Linked DNA regions of Homo sapiens: region 1 is linked to region 2. The links are contacts of gene promoters, found by promoter capture Hi-C in human tissues and cell types (Jung and others, 2019). All regions are on one chromosome and are shown on one strand. The core of a region is centred on a gene start or on the middle of the fragment in contact, and the rest is flanking DNA. Distances in the headings are between cores, read along the strand shown. Region 1 holds the start of TBC1D2B (TBC1 domain family member 2B). Region 2 overlaps PSMA4 (proteasome 20S subunit alpha 4).

Evidence for each region. Contacts are between HindIII fragments. The study calls those that stand out against the background at their distance.
Region 1: a contact is called between the fragment with the promoter of TBC1D2B here and a fragment that was not itself captured in region 2, in 1 of the 25 tissues and cell types used here (adrenal gland).

Annotation. Positions count from the first base shown.
Region 1 is chr15:78,074,948-78,079,894 of GRCh38, forward strand. It overlaps TBC1D2B (TBC1 domain family member 2B), which reads right to left and starts at 2,764. Exons shown (of 13, transcript NM_144572.2): 1 at 2,346-2,764. The coding sequence starts at 2,705. RefSeq lists silencers at 2,240-2,439, 2,640-2,849, 3,000-3,049. The HindIII fragment of the contact is 18,770 bases long and covers 1-4,947 here.
Region 2 is chr15:78,547,262-78,552,219 of GRCh38, forward strand. PSMA4 (proteasome 20S subunit alpha 4) reads left to right here. Exons shown (of 9, transcript NM_002789.6): 9 at 1,529-4,958. The coding sequence ends at 1,683. Among named protein-coding and RNA genes, the nearest start is that of PSMA4, 9.3 kb to the left of the region's middle. The HindIII fragment of the contact is 4,467 bases long and covers 1-4,039 here.

The DNA.
Region 1 (4,947 bases), core at 1,514-4,013, 470 kb before region 2:
TATTTTCCATACCACTATGGAAAATGCGCCAGCCATTTTCCATAACATTCTCCAGAATCCTCACAGCCACCTAATGAGGAAGGTATGATTCCCACTAGACCAAAGAGGAAACTGGAGCAGGGAACTGGTGTAATTTGTCCAATATGTGTGAGCAGCAGACTCCTGCTTCAAGTTCAAGTCCATCGAAGTTTAAAGCCACACTTCTGACAATGCGCCTTGTAACCCTGCTTATGTAGATTCTTATTTATTATTTTTTTTTTAATTTTTTTTGAGATGGAGTCTCACTCTGTCACCCAGGCTGAGTGCAGTGGCGCGATCTCTGCTCACTGCAAGCTCTTCCTCCCGGGTTCACGCCATTCTCCTGCCTCAGCCTCCCGAATAACTGGGACTACAGGCACCCGCCACCATGCCTGGCTAATTTTTTGTATATTTAATAGACATGGGGTGTCACCGTGTTAGCCAGGATGGTCTCGAGCTCCTGACCTCGTGATCCACCCGTCTCGGCCTCCCAAAGTGCTGGGATTACAGGAGATTCAGATTATTTTAATGAAAAAAACTGATAGAGTTCTACAGTCATCTGGGAAAAATGTGAAACACGATGCTCTATTTTCTTTAACAAACATCCCACAGGAAATTCGTCCGACACAGGGACAGCCCGTATGTACACTGAGGAAGAGCCTCTGCCTTTGGCAAAGGTCTCCCACTAGGGTCATTACCAAGTTTATACAGGCACTCTCTAAGTAAGCCTGTGTAGGACTGCAACCCGAGTTGGTTTTCTTTGGGGAAACAGGCTGTCTGCACCCACTTACAGACAGGACAGGGGAGCCCAAGAGAACATGGGAATCAGATCCTGCTTGAACTGGCAAAAGCTGAGTCAGCAAAGCTCTAAGAACATCTCCAGGGAGCAGCTCCAGCTGTTAGCAGCTCTGGGGGTCTGAGGAACAGTCCTCAGCTCACAAGGCCAGGAGTTTGCCTAGTCTGCTCTCCGTGTGGCCAGCTTTGAGAGCACTTTCATACATCCCAGCCCAACCCTGTTGCTCTGGAGAAAGCCCAACCTGGAATACGGAAGAGGAGTGAGAGTGAGGGTGGAGACTCACAGAAACCAGGCAGGGAGCAAAGCCTGGAAAAAGGATACCCAGCTCCAGGCCTGGGCCCAGATCCCTCCAGATGCTCAAAGCAGGTGGGCCCCTAGGAGGTGACAGTCTAGTCCCCCAGAACTCCCAAGGACAGGGGAGGCCTTTCAGCACCAGGACTCCTGACTCTACTCTCCTGCTTCTACACTGTATCTCTCATTTTGTCTGTCCACTGGAGGATTAAGGGAGCCTCAAAGGAGCAAGGCATAACTGGCTGAAAAGACCCCCTCCCACCCATCCTGGACAAAGCAAGGAGGAAGAACACAGGATCTGCCACCTACTGGCTGTGTGACCTTAGCTGGAGCATCCCCGTCCACTCTGGAGGAAAATGTAGTGGACTGTCTCTAAGGGCCCTGCCATCTGACTCTTTCTGTCTACAGTGCTAAATGCACTCTGGCTCACGCCTGGCATCCCAGCACTTTGGGAAGCTGGATGGGGAGGATGGTTTCGGCCCAGGAGTTCGAGACTAGCCTGGGCAACATAGTGAGACCCCCGTTTCTTTAAAAAAAAAAAAAAATTTAATTAGCCAGGCGTGGTGGCCCGCACCTGTGGTCCCAGCTACTTGGGAGGCTGAGGTGGGAGGATCTCTTGAGCCCAGGCATGGAGGCTGCAGTGAGCCGAGATCGCACCCCTGCACTCCAGCCTGGACAACAGAACAAGATCCTGTCTCAAAAAGAATAAATAAACAAATAAATAAAAGCACTGACATTTACTGAGCAGTTTAAAGTATAATTCATTTAATCCCAACACCCCATGAGGTAGATACTACTGTTATCCCATTTTACAGAGGAGGCCGCTGCAGCCCAGAGCGGTTCACTGAGGTACCAAGGCCATAGGCAAAGTTCTAAAGGAGGCCCCAGGGGTAGAAGCCTACGCTCACGGATGCCTGGGAAGGCTGCACAGGACATCCACGGGATGGTGGGGGTCGGGAGACACCAGAGACTGGCCCGAGGTTAGGCGCAGAGGGAGATAATGGGTCAAGGTGTCTGAGAAAGGAGACGGGGCTTGGTAGCCCCAGCGAGACTGGCCTAAGCCCAGATAGTGGGGAGGAGATAGGAACGAGGGCGGGATGTGGAGAAGCAGGGAAAGGCAGGCCGACGTGGGCAGGGGCGAGGAGGCCTTGGAGGAAGGAGGGTGGATGGCGCAAGCCAGTGGCGGAGGCAGGGGACGCCGGCGGAAGCGCGCGGGCGGCTTTGGGGCGAGCGGTCCCACCTTGAGCACCGTGACGGCTCCCGCGCTGTGCACCTGGAAGTGCGCGGGCGGCTCCGTGCCCGGCTCCGCCGCCTCGTCGGGGCCCTGGTAGCTGAAGCAGGCGTCCGCGATGTCCAAGTGGCCGAGGGGCAGCGCGTCCTGCGGACTCTTGAAATAGTAAAGGTAGCAGCGGCGCGCGTCGAACACGAACCAGCGGCTGCGGTAGCCACGCAGGGGGCCCTTGCCCGACAGCTTCTGCAGATAGCCACACAGCCGCGCTGGCTCCCGCGCCGGACCCGCCCCGGGCTCCGCGGCCGCCCCCTGCGCCGCGCCCTCGCCGCCGCCGCCGCCCTCCTCCGCCCGGGCTCCGGCCCCCGGCATCGCTACCGCGCGCCAACCGTAGGCGCCCGCGCCCTGCGCCTCCGCGCCGCGGCCGCTGCGCCCCCTACCCCCTCCGCACCGCCCCTTCGCTCCGCACGGCCCGCGGGCGCGCAAAGCACCCTGGGACTTGTAGTCTCGCCCCCGCCCGCCCGCCGGCCGTTGCCCCCTCAGCCCCCGGAGGCAGGGTCCTGCGACCAGCACCCCGCGGGTCAGTTGCCTTCGTGCCACCTGGGCTCCAAGTCCTCGCCCTGCCGGATGAAGCAATGGTCTATTTCTTTATGGCAGTGTAGGTACATGGGAGTGTGCATCTCTCAAAACCCAGCGGAGTGTCCGCTTAAAACTGCATTTCACACTGTGTATCTTATTCTAAAAACTTGATATTTAAATCTCCCTCCTGCCAGAGTCTCAAGCTAATATTGTAAAAATGAGACAGCCTATTGCCTGGTGCTGAGTGGGTGCTCAGTAAATATTTGCAGAATTCATGAAAGCCAAAGCGTTTCCTGCCTCTCCAGACCTCAGTTCATTTATTGAATTCAACATATATTTATTGAGCGCCTTCTGAATGCCGGGTACGGTTCTGTATGCCAGGCCCTGGCGGATACAGCAGTGAACAAACCAATCATTCTCCTGCCCTCGTGGAGGTTATATTCTAGTAAGGCAGGGAGGTGACACACAAGAAAGCAGATAAAAGTAATGTGTGCTATGTTGTATAAATGCCGTGATGACATGTAAATGATTACCGCTTAAAATAGCACCTAGTATTTATCAGTGCTTTATAGACTAACTTATTTGAACACTCACAACCTGAGAAGGCAAATCTATTGCTTTGTAATAAAGCAAAGAGAAAGAATGAATAAGACCAAGTATTTGCTAGCACAACAGGGTGACTACAGTCAAAAATAATATAATTGTACGTTTAAAAATAACCAAAAGAGTATAATACAGACGCGGTGGTTCACGCCTGTAATCCCAGCAGTTTGGGAGGCCGAGGTGGGTGGATCACCTGAGGTCGGGAGTTCGAGACCAGCCTGACCAACATGAAGAAACCCTGTCTCTACTAAAAATACAAAATTAGCTGGGCGTGGTGGTGCATGCCTGTAATCCCAGCTACTCGGGAGGCTGAAGCAAGAGAATCTCTTGAACCCCGGAGGTGGAGGTTGCAGTGAGCCGAGGTTGCGCCATTGCACTCCAGCCTGGGCAACAAGAGCAAAACTCTGTCTAAAAAGAAAAAAAAAAGTATAATAGGATTGTTTGTAACACAAAGGATAAATGCTTGAGGTGATGGATACCTTACTTACCCTGATTTGATTATTATGCATTGCATGCCTGTATTAAAATATCTCATGTAACCCATAAATATATACACCTACTATGTTCCCACAAGAATAAAAAATAAGTAAAAAGCAAAGTGAGAGGATGAAGTGATGGGGGGCAGATAGCAGGCTGCTGCCCCAGGACAGGCAAGGAGGCTGGTCTGATCCTGTGACATGGAGCACAAACCCAGATGATGGGAGGGACAGGGGCAACCAGAAATGTGGGTGAAGCATTCCAGGGAGAGGGAATAGTGAGTACAAGAGCTCACTTTATTCAAAGGAAAAAGGAAGTGTATAGCTACATAGCTACATTTGTGAAAGCCCAAACCAAATATCTCACCCTCATAGATTTGCATGTTTTATACAGACACACTGAAAGACCCAGGTGGAAAACTGACCTTTCTGAGCTGGACAGGGACACAAATTAGACTGCCTGTTTGGAGCCACCCAGGTAGGAAGGGCAGGTTCTGGGTCCTCACCCAGCCTGCCGACTCTCTGCAGGCCCTAAAGTGGCACCACGCAAGCATTCCTTTCCTGGGGCCCATCAGAGGTGTGGCTGACCTCTCCACCTGTCTTTGAGCACAATCAGCACAGTGTTAAGGACTGGGCTCTGACTTCACACTGACCAGATGTGTCTCCTAGCTCTGCCACTTACCAGAGGCATGACCTTGGGCAAGTGATTTAACCTCTCTGGGCCTCAGTCTCTTCATTTATAAAACAGGGTTGATAAATACAAGTAGCTATCTCGTGCTGTTGTTATTGAAAGGGTTACGTGAGAAATGCATATGAAAGTGCTTAGCACGGTGCCTCACACATAGTAAGCACTCAGCACATATCAGCTGTTATTATTATCATCTTGCAGTTAACACCGATGTCTTCCTCATCAGTCAGCAGATTCGGAGAGGGGGAATCCAACAGTCAGACCGGGC
Region 2 (4,958 bases), core at 556-3,055:
CAATCTCATTACTCACAGATAGACATCCTGCACTGTGCTACTTTTAGTTAACAGTTATCAAGTCTTCTCATCAATGATATCTTTGCTTGTGTGTATATATGATAAAGCATACGTATGTAGTTATATATTTATACATAGGTTTGGTATACTTTACCAGAGATACAACATTTGCGTGGGTTGTGATACCCTCTCCTGTTCTTCTTAATCTACTAATCTCTTATTTTAAGCTCATGTTAGCAATTCCAAATACCTTGTTCAACTTAAGCTATATGACTATATAAAAGAATATTTCAGTCGAGCTTGGTGGCTCATGCCTGTAATCCCAGCACTTTGGGAGGCTGAGGTGGGTGGATCACCTGAGGCCAGGAGTTCCAGATCAGCCTGGCCAACATGGTGAAGCCCCATCTCTACTTAAAATACAAAAATTAGCTAGGCATGGTGGTGCATGCCTATAAATCCCAGCTACTTGGGAGGCTGAGGCAGGAGAATCACTTGAACCTGGGAAGCGGAGGCTGCAGTGAGTTGAGATCATGCCACTGCACTCCAGCGTGGGTGACAGAGAGAGACTCTGTCTCAAAAAAAAAAAGAATATTTCTAAATGTTTTTCAGAAATTGTGGTAAATTAACATGTTGCTTTATGTTAGGACAGTTTAGCTCCTGGTGTTCCTTAGAAAATGCCATTTACGGCCGGGCATATTGGCTCACGCCTGTAATCCCCAGCACTTTGGGAGGCCGAGGTGGGTGGATCACCTGAGGTCAGGAGTTCAAGACCAGGTTGGCCAACATGGTGAAACCCCTGCCTCTACTAAAAATACAAAAAATTAGCCGGGCGTGGTGGTGCGCACCTGTAATCCTGCTACTCAGGAGGCTGAAACAGGAGAATCACCTGAACCCAGGAGGTGGAGGTTGCAGTGAGCCGAGTTTGCGCCATTGCACTCCAGCCTGGGCAACAAGAGCAAAACTCCATCTCAAAAAAAAAAAGAAAAAGAAAATGTCATTTACATGCAGATTGCCCTCTTTTGTCTACTTCCACCCAGTTTCAAGGAAGCACTACTCAGTTTCCCTGGTACAAAAAAATTCCTTCCCCTTTAGGTATCAGTCTGCTTTTCTTGGCCATTTCATGCCTTTTATTTATTTATTTTTTTAAGAGACTTGAAAAGTCCATAAAAAATAAGCTGTTATTACCAGTTGAAGATTCTGGCTGAGCCCTCAGAGGTTCCAACAGTTCCGTCTAATCAGCACAGCTAATAGCAGGCCGGCAATAGCAATTGGTTGATTATACTTTTTCTAAGGGAGTGACAAAATGGCTGAGGAGACGATATTTAAGTAAAAATTATAATTAAAACATTACAAGATCAAAAGTATATTGTTCTCATAAAAGGGAATAATGTTAAGTATAAAACATAGGAGAGTGCTGAACTAACGTTTCAATGATGTGGCGAGCATAAACCATGAGTGCCTATTAAGCTTCTCTGCTAAGTATGCCTGCCTGCCTGCAATACAAATAAATGTATGTGTTTGTTTTTAGTGGAAATTGCAACACTAACAAGAGAGAATGGAAAGACAGTAATCAGAGTTCTCAAACAAAAAGAAGTGGAGCAGTTGATCAAAAAACATGAGGAAGAAGAAGCCAAAGCTGAGCGTGAGAAGAAAGAAAAAGAACAGAAAGAAAAGGATAAATAGAATCAGAGATTTTATTACTCATTTGGGGCACCATTTCAGTGTAAAAGCAGTCCTACTCTTCCACACTAGGAAGGCTTTACTTTTTTTAACTGGTGCAGTGGGAAAATAGGACATTACATACTGAATTGGGTCCTTGTCATTTCTGTCCAATTGAATACTTTATTGTAACGATGATGGTTACCCTTCATGGACGTCTTAATCTTCCACACACATCCCCTTTTTTTGGAATAAAATTTGGAAAATGGAAATGAAGGAATAAATTCTCTGTAGCAGTAATTGTTAAATATACAAAAACTGACAGGGCGATTACTTTTTGCACATTGTGGCTTACAGTCCTTTCACAAAGATGGGCACGTTCCTCAGGCTGGCCAGATTATTCGTCTCTGTCTGCAGGAATTGGTTTGAGAATGAACACGTGAGCTGAACAAAGCCAGAATTGATGTGTGGGTGTGGATCTCGCAGCTAGGACTGAGGCTGCCCACAGGCAGCAGCTCAAGCTGCGCGGAAGATGAGGTGTAGAAGTTAAGGCCACAGAGGAAAAGTGGAACCAAGAGATGAGAACAGTTACGTGTTGGCTGAAGGGAGCTCTGTTGCTGGGGTTTGTTCAACCTGAGTTCCCTTGGCTATCTGTGGCTTCATGACAGAAGTGATACAGGGCAGTGGTACTTAATGCGTAGCCATGGTGCTTTAGCATCACCTATGCAGATTCTGATGTCCCATCCCAGATCTACTGAATTAAAATCTCTGAGGGTGAAACCCAGTAATCTGTTCTAACAAGCTCTGCATGTGATTCTTAGGAATGCTAAGTAAAACTTTAAGAAGTTTTTGTTGCATATTAGAATCACCTAGGAAGCTTTTGCAGCTTGTAAGCATGCTGTATCGATTAACTCAAGCTCTGTGGTGGAACCCAGATATTAACATTGCTTAAACTCTTCAGGTGATTTCCATCAGCTAGGGTGAGTGCATTGAGCCATCATTTACCCTTCTCTCAGCTGTTGTCAACCAAATATGTGCTCCCAGTCTAATTTCTCATTGTAGATTTTCTTAATGCAGCTCCCTGCAGTTTTCTGTATAGGCTAAAGTATTTACAAGCCCTATTTGCAGCACTTTTTTGAACTTCTAAATTATTCTCTTACTCTGTACAGCAGGTTCTCGTTATTTTTGGTAGTTATGTTCTAAAGTCACCACAAAAACTAACAAAATACTGAACTCTTGCACCTAGAGAAAGTACTGGGTTAGGGTCCTACAAGCCACTGGTCACATTTTTATCAACTGATCAGTACATAACCTGTTTTTTGTGTATTTCTACTTAAAGACACCTTTTTAAATGTGTATTGTGGATTCATTAACATAGAACTCAGCCAACAGCTCTTTACGTGAATGTTTTTGTTTTGTTTTGTTTTTTGAGACTGGGTCTTGCTCTGTCACCCAGGCTGGAGTGCAGTGGCGTGATCATATTTCACTGCAGGCTCAAACGGTCTTCCTGCCTTGACCTCCCAAAGTGTTGACATCACAGCCCTCTTATGCTTAGGAACAACACTAAACAGTGTTTTTTTCATAGAGACGGTGAGCAGGGAAGGTCTCACCATGTTTCCCATGCCGGTCTCAAGCTCCTGGACTCAAGCGATCCTCCTGCCTCAGCCTCCCAAAGTGCTGACATCACAGCCCTCTTGTGCTTAGGAACATTAAACAGCACTTCAGCACTATACCTGGGTGCCATTTGAAATAGTAAAATCACTAAGAAAAATGCAAAAATAAACGGCACAAGGTAGACTGCAGGAACACTTACACGGTGTGAGAGCTGAAACAAGAATTCAGAGTGTCGCCTTGCTCAACCTCAGATGGGAACATGTGCACCTGGGTACTCAAAATTTTCACCACTCTGCATGTCAACAAATGACTAAAAGTACCACAAGTATTGGTTTGGGGGTTACATGTACATTTTATGAGAATGCAAATTTTGCAAATTCACAAGTACAGAATCAGCAAGTAGTGAAGATGAATGGCACGTCTTCACCCTCCAGTCTTGCTACACCCAGAGGTTGAGGTAGTCAATAAATCTTATTAACTCTGTCTGCAGAATTTACCCATAATCCAGCCACTTTCCACTGCAGGAACGCTGGTCCAATTCACCATTATCTCTGACTTGGACTATTGCAACAGCCTCCTAACTGGTTCCTTGCCTCCACTTCATTCCCCACAGTCAATTCTCCAGCAGCAGCCACAGTGATCCTTTCAAAATGTAAACGGTACTACTGCACAGTTTTGGCTCAAAACCCTCCAATGGCTTCCCATCTTGCTCAGTAAGAGTCAAATTCTTTGTACTGGTTCATGAGGTATCCTGTATTCTGGCCTTGTGCTACCTTCCATGTGCTTCCTTCCTCACTCATTCATCCAAATGAGCCTTCTCATCATTCCCTGAATGTGCCAAGCTCCCCTCACATCACTTGCCAATCCCTCTGCCTTGGGAATGCTCTTCCTGGGTATCTATTGCCCACTCCCTCATCTCCAGGTCTCTGCTTGCATGTCACCTTTTTTGGGGTACTTCTGTGAAGGAGCAATCTCTTTCCCCTGCACACTCACATTTTCTATTCCCTATACATACCCTGTTGAGTTTTTCTCCATAGCACTCATCACCAGCTGGCATATTTGTTTCTTGTCTCTCCCCACTGGAATACAGACTTCCAGAGCAGTACTTTGTTTTCATTCAATAGTCGTGTCTCGGTACCTAGAACAGAAACTGGCACGTGTTAGGCAACAAATAAGTACTGATGAATGAATAAATACCCTGGATATGCTGGTGTGAAATCCTAAAAAATACCTGCTTTCCATCCAGATCAGTAGCACTGGTGGATTTTCTGTATCCTGACTACCCCTTCAACATTTGCCTAAAGCTAGGACAACTTCTTCAAAGGCAATAGTGAATAAGAGAGCCTGGTATAGTTTGCCGCCACATTAGGAAAGTCTTCAGAATTTGACCCTAACAGCAGGCAAATTTCAACGTATTCATCTTTTTGTTGAAATAAATTCATACTGTGAGGAAAAGCAAAAGATAGGAGGTGAGGCAAAAGCTACTCTTTAACTGTGAGTTTTTTTTCCTTGCGATGGGGTTTGGCTGCCTAGTCTAGATTCTCACGCTAGCCCCACTTTCGTCTGCTCTGTGGCATATTTTTAACCTGAGTTGCAGGACAGGTGGTTTCCAGAGTGTTGCCTGATGCATCCCAAATGCTGCCTTAGCAATACACATCTGAACAGGGGCCCATCACTAATAGCAA